3 separate regions of the Homo sapiens genome follow, and all the other regions are linked to region 3. Evidence: promoter capture Hi-C in 16 types of primary human blood cells and fetal thymus (Javierre and others, 2016). All regions are on one chromosome and are shown on one strand. Each heading gives the region's core, a stretch centred on a gene start or on the middle of the fragment in contact. The rest is flanking DNA. Distances are from core to core; before and after follow the strand shown. Region 1 has its middle 6.1 kb from the start of FZD2. Region 2 has its middle 10 kb from the start of FZD2. Region 3 holds the start of LINC01180 (long intergenic non-protein coding RNA 1180).

The links. The method cuts DNA at HindIII sites, captures the fragments that hold promoters and counts their contacts. A CHiCAGO score of 5 or more calls a contact.
Region 1: a fragment that was not itself captured here is called in contact with the fragment with the promoter of LINC01180 in region 3 in 1 of 17 cell types (endothelial precursors); the score reaches 6.3 in endothelial precursors.
Region 2: a fragment that was not itself captured here is called in contact with the fragment with the promoter of LINC01180 in region 3 in 1 of 17 cell types (megakaryocytes); the score reaches 6.1 in megakaryocytes.

The regions. Positions count from the first base shown.
Region 1 is chr17:44,562,191-44,565,062 of GRCh38, reverse strand. No RefSeq gene overlaps it. Among named protein-coding and RNA genes, the nearest start is that of FZD2, 6.1 kb to the right of the region's middle. The HindIII fragment of the contact is 2,708 bases long and covers 58-2,765 here.
Region 2 is chr17:44,545,779-44,548,720 of GRCh38, reverse strand. No RefSeq gene overlaps it. Among named protein-coding and RNA genes, the nearest start is that of FZD2, 10 kb to the left of the region's middle. RefSeq lists an enhancer at 111-658. The HindIII fragment of the contact is 7,724 bases long and covers 1-2,942 here.
Region 3 is chr17:44,648,681-44,651,634 of GRCh38, reverse strand. It overlaps LINC01180 (long intergenic non-protein coding RNA 1180), which reads left to right and starts at 1,286. Exons shown (of 3, transcript NR_110661.1): 1 at 1,286-2,867. The HindIII fragment of the contact is 9,700 bases long and covers 1-2,240 here.

The DNA.
Region 1 (2,872 bases), core at 162-2,661, 87 kb after region 3:
AATAGAGACTGGGAGGCCCAGGAAAGAGAGAGGAGATACAGGAAAGAGGCAAAAGCTTTAATGGCCATCGTGCAAGTCCACAAATCCCAGAATTCCCAGGGTGCACCTGTTAACTGCTAAAAGATATGGCAAGAACAGTTATCTCTTCTCAAGTTGAACTGCTCCTATATAAGGTTTAATTTCTTACAGCTCAGGGTACAATGTTGTTAGTATATTTTACTTCTTGTCTCTGGAATCTTTGGCACTAAATTCTTTCCTTGTATAATACACGTTTAATTTATGCACACTTAACCTTATAAAACTTGTTTTATTCTCTTGCGCCTAGAAGCCACCAAACTGCAAACGGTCAGGCAATCGGAGCCTCGGATGATGGCTCCCCTTTCCTAGGAACCCTTAGATAGACCTCTAGGAGGAGTCTGACTGCTGTTTTCCCCAAAACAATGCCCCCTATCAGCATGAAGCAGCTAAGACCAGTCATCGTCCATATTCTAAGGGCAGTTAGATGTACCTCTTCACACGGAGGAAATGATAGGGAAGTGCTGGGAAGGGAAGACTGTGGTCCTTTTAAATGATAGGGAACAGTTTAAAAACTATTGGTAACACTTCTCTTGTCAAGAAATTAGATCTTTTGATCCACTGATTTTATTTTTGGAAATGTATTCTAAGTGGGGGCCAGGCGCGGTGGCTCACACCTGTAATCCCAGCACTTTGGGAGGCCAAGGCGGGCGGATCACGAGGTCAGGAGATCGAGACCATCCTGGCTAACCCGGGGAAACCACATCTCTACTAAAAATACAAAACAAAACAAAAAAAACTAGCCAGGCGTGGTGGCGGGCGCCTGTAGTCCCAGCTACTCCAGAGGCTGAGGCAGGAGAATGGCGTGAACCCGGGAGGCGGAGCTTGCAGTGAGCCGAGATCGCGCCACCGCACTCCAGCCTGGGCGACAGAGCCAGACTCCGTCTCAAAATAAATAAATAAATAAATGTATTCTAAGTAATTGGAAAAGTGCTACAATTTATTGAACTACTGCCTGAGGGCTCTGTAGATGTATGGTCCCGTCTACTACTCATGTTACCAGACAGGTACTATCAGCCTTTTTATAGATGAGGACACACGCTCAGAGGTTAGAAAAATGCCACAAGTGCTCACAGCTACTACTGCAGTGAGTGGTACCAAAGCATGTCAAAGCCTCTGCTCGCCATACATTGTCTGTCTCTCTCTCCGTTTTTCCCAACTACAAATTTCATTCATCCATATTCCACTCTGCTGCATCTTGATCACTTGTTACCTGATCAAGGGGCAGGATTGAACTGAGTGAATAATCTGGTTCCGGGGTACTCCTGGTTTTGTAGGCCCAGTGGCTTTCCCTCCTCACCCCCACCCCCTTTCCATAGCAGAGGTGATTAGAGACCGGGGGATACTGGAGTCTGAGAAGGTAAGGGCTGTCCTTTAGAGAAGGAGAGGTAGCTAGTAATCAGGACTAGAAAATGTCTAGACAGGCCAGGCACGGCGGCTCATGCCTGTAATTCCAGTACTTTGGGAGGCCGAGGCGGGAGGATCACCTGAGGTCAGGAGTTTGAGACCAGCCTGGCCATCGTGGTGAAACCCCATCTCTACTAAAAATACAAAAATTAGCCAGGTGTGGTGATGCACACCTGTAATCCCAGCTACTCAGGAGGTTGAGGCAGGAGAATTGCTTGAACTCGGGAGGCGGAGATTGCAGTGAGCTGAGATCGCGCCACTACACTCCAGCCTGGGCGACAGAGTGAGACTCAGTCTCAAAAAAAAAAAAAAAAAATGTCTAGACCAGCGACTCGAAAACTAGTTTGGGGGCAGGCGGGTAGGGAGAGAGGTCAGGGAGGGATGATCTAGAAACTTCCTAAAGCTACACACAATTGCATATTCATGGGGGATCTGGCTATTTTTTTTTTCCAGGAAGAGGTCCAAAGAGTTTTGAGATTCTCAGATGGTCAGTGGCCCCCAGAAGTTTAAGATCCATTTAAGGTAAGAAGAGTGATTCTAGAGGAGGAGGGACCCTGGTACAGTGAGTAGCAAGACTGCAGAAGGGAGGGCTCGCCCGGCTCAGACCCCATGGCAGGCACCCCCGGGACAGCATCTCCCCACCCTCCTGAAGAGATTTTGGAACAAAAAGCAGTTCCCCATCCCACTGGGCTGAACCTAATCTTAATTCTTTGGGGATGTTCAGAAGAATTTTGTCTTGAGAAACTTTAGTGGCCTTTTTCTAGAGCTAGCTCTTCAAAAAATCTTAAAGGGCAAAAAGTTTGGAACTAACGTTAAAGTCTTCTGGAGGGAAGTCTGGGCTGGGAGGAGGGAAAGCCTGATCAATAAGAGGGGGGAGTCTGGAGGAGAAATGCCTGGGACCTTGAAACCCCAGACCATTGCCCTGGGGGAGGGCAGAAGAGCAGGCAGAAAGCAGCGTGGGCCTGAGACCTGCCCCAGGCCCAGGTGCCACAGGTGAGTGTATTTCCTTCTTGGCCCTGACCCTCCAGCAAACACAAAGCCTCGCTCTTCCAGAGGGAGGGACCAGCCCACTTACAACATGGAAACCCTTTTCTGCTCAAAGGACGACCTAGAAATCTCCAAAAGCAGATCTCTAAGCTCCTGTTTTTAACTGGGTTTTCTGAACAAGGGAGCTGAGGTGCCCTCTCCCGTGAGGCAGTGAGTTCAGGTGGTTTACCTCTGAGTCTTCCTCCAGGGTGCTTTCTCCTCTTTACCCCAAATTCCCCAAACTGTGGTCTAAAGCTTCCCTTCCTCTAAGAGTGTTTCATTTAAGAAACAGGACAAGGGTGTGGAGAGGAGGGTTCCCCCACAACAATTTTCAGTAGGGTAATTCAGCCCTTGGCTACTCCCC
Region 2 (2,942 bases), core at 242-2,741, 100 kb after region 3:
ATGGGCCATAAAAGGATTAAACAGATGTAACAGATGATCTATTAATTAAGGGCCTTCATTGGCCCAAGCCTGGGCTGAGCAAGACCAAGGTGTGGGCTGCTCAGAGCCAAATGGGGAAACAGGATCTAGAAAGCCAGTGCTAGGTTTGGCTAGTGAGGTTCTTGGGTGACTCTGCCTTCTAGAACAGGAAATAAATGTCCCTAGGAATGAACGGTTTCGATATTTTGTCTTCCAGAACCTTCTAGAACCTAATGCCAAGGGGAGAGGAATAGGGAAGCCTGAATCATAGCTCTGTAGCTATGGAGGGGTCCTTGGGGTGATGGGTGTGGGGGTGCTCCCTTGGGAGGGAGGAAAAGGTAGGTTGGCTTCCCAGCTGGAGCTCCCCTCCTGCTCCAGCAGAGCCCCACTCTTCCACCCTGGCTGCCCCCCTCCCATCTTCTCACTCTGCTCTTTCTTTTCCCCCTTCCTCATTTTCTACTCCTCCTTCTCCCTCTTGCTTCTCCCAGAATGTCTCTCCTTTCTCTCTAGGCTGGGCCACCTCACCCCCTCCCCTTCCCCTTTCCTGTAACTGAAGCTGTTGTTGGGAGTTGGAGGAGCTGGGCTGGTTTGAAAGGAGGCCCTGCTGCTTTTCAGGGAGGAATTGAAACTGTGGAGCTGGGGGTGAGGGGAGGCAGCAGAGGGGGAGGGGGGTGACTTGAGAAATCAAAGCGGCTGCAACTCCATCTGGGAAACCAACTTTGATTTACTAGCAAGGACCTGGCTCTCCCACTACCCCCACCCTTGCCCACTCCCCCTCCTTCCCTGGACTTTGCTTTGTGGTGATAACTGGGGGAAGGGGGGACGGACCCCCTTCCAACATGGAAGCCTGCTCTTAACCTGGGAGGACCAGCCTAGAGGAAGAAGGCCTGGGGGACTCTGCTCAGTCAGGCTGCAGATGCGGCTGAAGGGGGCCCAGCATCTCAGGAACTGGGTAGGAGAATGGATACCCCTGGGAAGGAGGAAAGCCTATTGGCCAGGCAGCCTGGCCCAGGCAGACTCAGCCCTGCTCTGGCTTGGGGCGACCCCCTCCCTGAGATGTGGGGCTGGGATGGGGGCACAGAGGAAGAAGGCCAGGGCTTTTTCATTTATCTATGGCCTTCCCCTCAGAACTGGGGGGCTTAGGGTCCAAGGCTGCCTGGTAAGAGCCAAGAAAAGAAAATGACTGAGAAGGAAAAAGGAACATCTATTGTAATAGACTATTTTGTGTTGAAATTCAATGTGAGCTATGGAGGACATTGGGTTCTGGTAGGGACTTGAGGCCATTTTGGGTGGAAGTGCTACCTTTCTCCTCCCTTCCTCTCTTGTACCCTCTGTTTTACTTTTCTTCTCCTCTGTCCAATTCTTAAACCCCTCAAGGTTGAAGGGGCTCTCTAACCAAACCCCTGCAATAGAAATAGGATCCCGAAGGTCCTAAACCCCCGGGGCCAGGGTAGAAATTCAGAACAAAATGAGTCATAACTTCAGGAAATGCTTATTCATGTTGTCAGCTGACTCCATCCAGTCCTCCTTGGTGGGGTGGTGAGTTTAAATCCCTGGACTCCTGGGTTCTAGGCAGACCCCCCCCTTCTCCTGAGCCTCCATCACAGCAGCATTTTTCAGGGTTCAGCATCCAACTTTCAGGACTAGCTCTTAGGAGAGAAAGGGACTAATTCAGCACAAATCTAGCCTTTTCTGCTCACTGCTAACCTTTCACTGCTCAAATCTAACCTTTCACTGCTCACTGTAGTGTCTGGGACTGCCCCATCAGAGCTCCTGCCCAGGGATAAAGTTTCTGAAAGCTGAGTCCACATGCATCAGTCCACATGCTGAGTCCATTATGGCAGGAGGGGAAATGGGAACTGGGGTTTGCCTGTTAGGAATATAGATTCCTGGGCCCTGCCCACTTATCCAAATATACCATCCCCAAGTGATTCGTACGTTCACTCTAAAGCTATCTGCTTTCCAAACCTCCAGACCATTCAATTAGCTTTCAGAGCCCTAGTTACTTTTTTTTTTTTTTTCTCTTCCAGATGAGGTCTTGTTCGGTCACCCAGGCTGAAGTATAGTGGCACGATCACAGCTCGCTGCAGCCTCAAACTCCTGGGCTCAAGAGATCCTCCCACCATTCCCACCACCTTCCTATACTGCAGAGGTTGGAAGCCAAAAACCTCACCTCTCAGCCTCCCTTGCAGCTAGAGCTCTGGATGCAAAATACGCTTATTTGAGATTTGGAAGGTGGAAGGGAAATGAGGTCATGTTCTTGCTGCAGTGGCAATTTCTAGTGATCCCTAGGTGCAGTTACCTTGGCTTAATTACAATGGAAGCCTTTTTTTTTTTTTTTTTTTTTTTTGATAGAGTTTCACTCTGTCCCCCAGGCTGGAATACAATGGTGTGAACTTGGCTCACTGCAACTTCCCACTCGCGGGCTCAAGCGATTCTCAGGCCTCAGCTTCCTGAGTAGCTGGGATTACAGGTGTGCACCATCACACCCAGCTAATTTTTGTTTGTTTAGTAGAGACAGGGTTTTGCCACGTTGGCCAGGCTGGTCTCAAACTCCTGACCTCAAGTGATCTGCCTGCTTTGGCCTCCCAAAGTGCTGGGATTACAGGCATGAGCCACTGCAACCGGTCCCAATGGTAGCCTCTTGATCCCCCTACCTGCTAGTGGCAGAGGTAGCAGCTTCTACTGGAGGGTCATTTCTGTGGCTTCGTGACAAAGTCTACTCCTCCAGGCCATCCAAGTTTCACAAACACCTAGTTTCCTGCTTGTTTTAGTCTGCTTGGGCTCCATAACAAAATACTACAGATTGGATAGCTTAAATGACAGAAATTTATTTTCTCATAGTTCTGGAAGCTGAAAGTCTGAGATCGGGATGCCAGCATGGTTGGATTCTGGCGAAGGCTTCCTTCCTGGCTTGTAGATGG
Region 3 (2,954 bases), core at 37-2,536:
GGAGCCTGTAGTGGGAGGATCCCTTAAGCCCAGGAGTTTGAGGCTGCAGTGCGCTGTGATCATGACACTGCACTCCATGCTGGCGTGCATGAGAGATGAGAGACCCCATCTCTCAAAAAAAATTTTTTTTTAAAAAAGATGGCTATCCTAGAGGATGTGAATTGGTATCTCATTGTGGTTTTGACTTACATTTCCCTAGTGACTAATGATGTTGACCATCTTTTCATGTGCTTATTGGTATATCTTCTTTGGAGAAATACCTATTTAAGTTCTTGGCTCATTTTTTGAAGTCATACTGTCTTGTCGTGTATTAATATGGTTTGTCGTAGAAATAAAAATTACTGGCAAATTTAACACTCTATTGAATTCGAGTGAATACATTAACAAAGAAAACATTTTGGTTATGAACAGAGTAAGTATATAATATGTAGTTAGTTCTTTCAGTTCTTTCATTCTCTTTTGGAAGATCTCATTTTCAACGTGTGTGTTGAGGGTTGGGTGGGGTTAGTTTCCCAGTCTTACTCAGACATATATACAAACCTCAGATTAAAGTGAGAAAGAGTTAGGAATACTCAAATAATTGTTTTATGTCTTCTCTGCCTTGATCTGAACTTAAAATTTTGTGGAGGGAGAGACTATTGACCCTCTTTCTCCATTTATTGTTTCTATACAGGGACAATGACGAAAGACATGTTTATACAATAAGATTAATTACATTTCAGTAACTTTGATCCAATTCAGAATGATGCTGCCCTCAAGTAAAAAAAACTTTTTCTTTTTCTTTTCTTTTCTTTTTTTTTTTTTGGAGTCTCACTCTGTTGCCCAGGCTGGAGTGCAATGGTACGATCTCAGCTCACTGCAACTTCCGTCTCCCAGATTCAAGCAATTCTCGTGCCTCAGGCTTCTGAGTAGCTGGGATTACAGGCACACACCACCAGGCCCAGCTAATTTTTCTATTTTTAGTAGAGACGGGGTTTCACCATGTTGGCCAGGCTGGTCTTGAACTCCTGACCTTGTGATCCGCCTGCCTCGGCTTCCCAAGTAAAAAACTTTTTTTTCCACTTACTATTTTGGGGATATTTAAGTGAATCTGAAATTACTATTGGATTTTTTTTTTCTCTTGAAACAGAGTTTTGCTCTTGTTGCCCAGGCTGGAGTGCAATGGTGCAATCTCGGCTCGCAGCAACCTCCACCTCCCAGGTTCAAGTGATTCTCCTACCTCAGCCTCCCAAGTAGCTGGGATTACAGGCACCCGCCACCACGCCCAGCTAATTTTTGTATTTTTACGGAGACAGGGTTTCACCATGTTGGCCATGCTGTTTTCACCATGTTGGCCGGGCTGTTTTCGAACTCCTGACCTCAGATGATCCATCTGCCTCCCAAAATGCTGGGATTACAGACGTGAGCCACCTCACCCGGCCCTACTATTGGATTTTTAAAGACAGATATTTAAGAACATTCTTTGCTAGAACTGAGGACAATTTAAACTTATTCCATTCAAGAAAACTTAGTGCAGAATGCAGACTTTCCCTTTCAAGTATATGTAAAAGTTAACTTCTTTTTTTTTCCACCTCTGGAAGACAATGTACAATGTAGTACTCTTCAGATACACTAATGAGACCCTTTTTATACTTTAACAGGGACGTAAACATTTCCTTTTGTAACAAAAATAAATTATGGGTTTCATTTTAAAAAGCCTATCCCCAAGAAATGTTTTGAGTGTTAATCTAAGTAAGATTTCATTATTCTCATAAGTAAAACTTTGAGTTCAAATAAAGTTTTGATTTTTTTTTTGATAATTGAAGGTATATGTAGGGGCTCAACCTAAATGCCAGGGAATTAACCCTCCATAGGAAGTAATCATATAATTCTAAGTCAGTATATAATTGAATTGATGTAGGATTTTTAAGTATTCTCTCAACTATATTAAATGAATTGTTTTTCCAGTTTTCTAGTGGTCCAAAAACTTAAATAGGCTGCAAATCTGCTGTGATTCAAACCGTGCAATTCCTCACAGGCATCTCTGACTTGAGGGACTAAGTTCCTGTAATTATGTGTCCTGAAATTAACTGGGTTGCCAGATAGGTTTTCTCAACCTTTAATAGCTTGTTGGAAGGCTTACAGAATGCTCTTTATTAGAAATATTTGGAACTACTTCCCCCCTTTTGGATACTCAAATTAGTGTTTTTCTAGTTCTCTGGCATAATTTGTATAGCTGCTTCCTTTGTAGAAAGTAAGCTTATGTTCTGCTTTTCCCTTTCTGGTTGGCTGGAGTGCTAGGTCACTCTTATCTGTGCTCTAGGAAACTTTTAGATTTCTACTTAGCTTAGGATGACACCCTGAAAGATTTAGGGTCTGCTTCTGTTTGGGTTAGGGGGTAGACACTTGAATTCATTGGTCTTTTTTTTGGCTCACTGCAGCCTTGACCTCCAGCACTCAAGGGATCCTCCCACTTCAGCCTCTAGAGTAGCTGCAACTATAGGTGCCTGCCACTATGCTCACTAATTTTGTGTATTTATTGTAGAGACAAGGTCTTACTGTATTCCTAGGCTGGTCTCGGACTCCTGGACTCAAGGGATCTTCCTTCTTCAGCCTCCCAAAGTGCTAGGGTAACAGGCATGAGCCACCATGCCCGGCCAAATAGATTGGTTTTTATCAAAGATGCTGTAATATTAATATGCATCTTCCTGCTATCCCTTCAAAAGTGAGAATTAATGTTGTTTTCTTTTCTTTTCTTTTTTTGAGATGGAGTCTCTCTCTGTCACCCAGGCTGGAGTGCAGTGGCGCAATCTTAGCCCACCGCAACCTCTGCCTCCCGGGTTCAAGCAATTCTCCTGCCTCAGCCTTCCGAGTAGCTGGGATTACAGGTATGCACCACCACACTCAGCTAATTTTGTATTTTTAGTCGAGATGGGGTTTCTCCATGTTGGTCAAGCTGGTCTTGAACTTCCGAC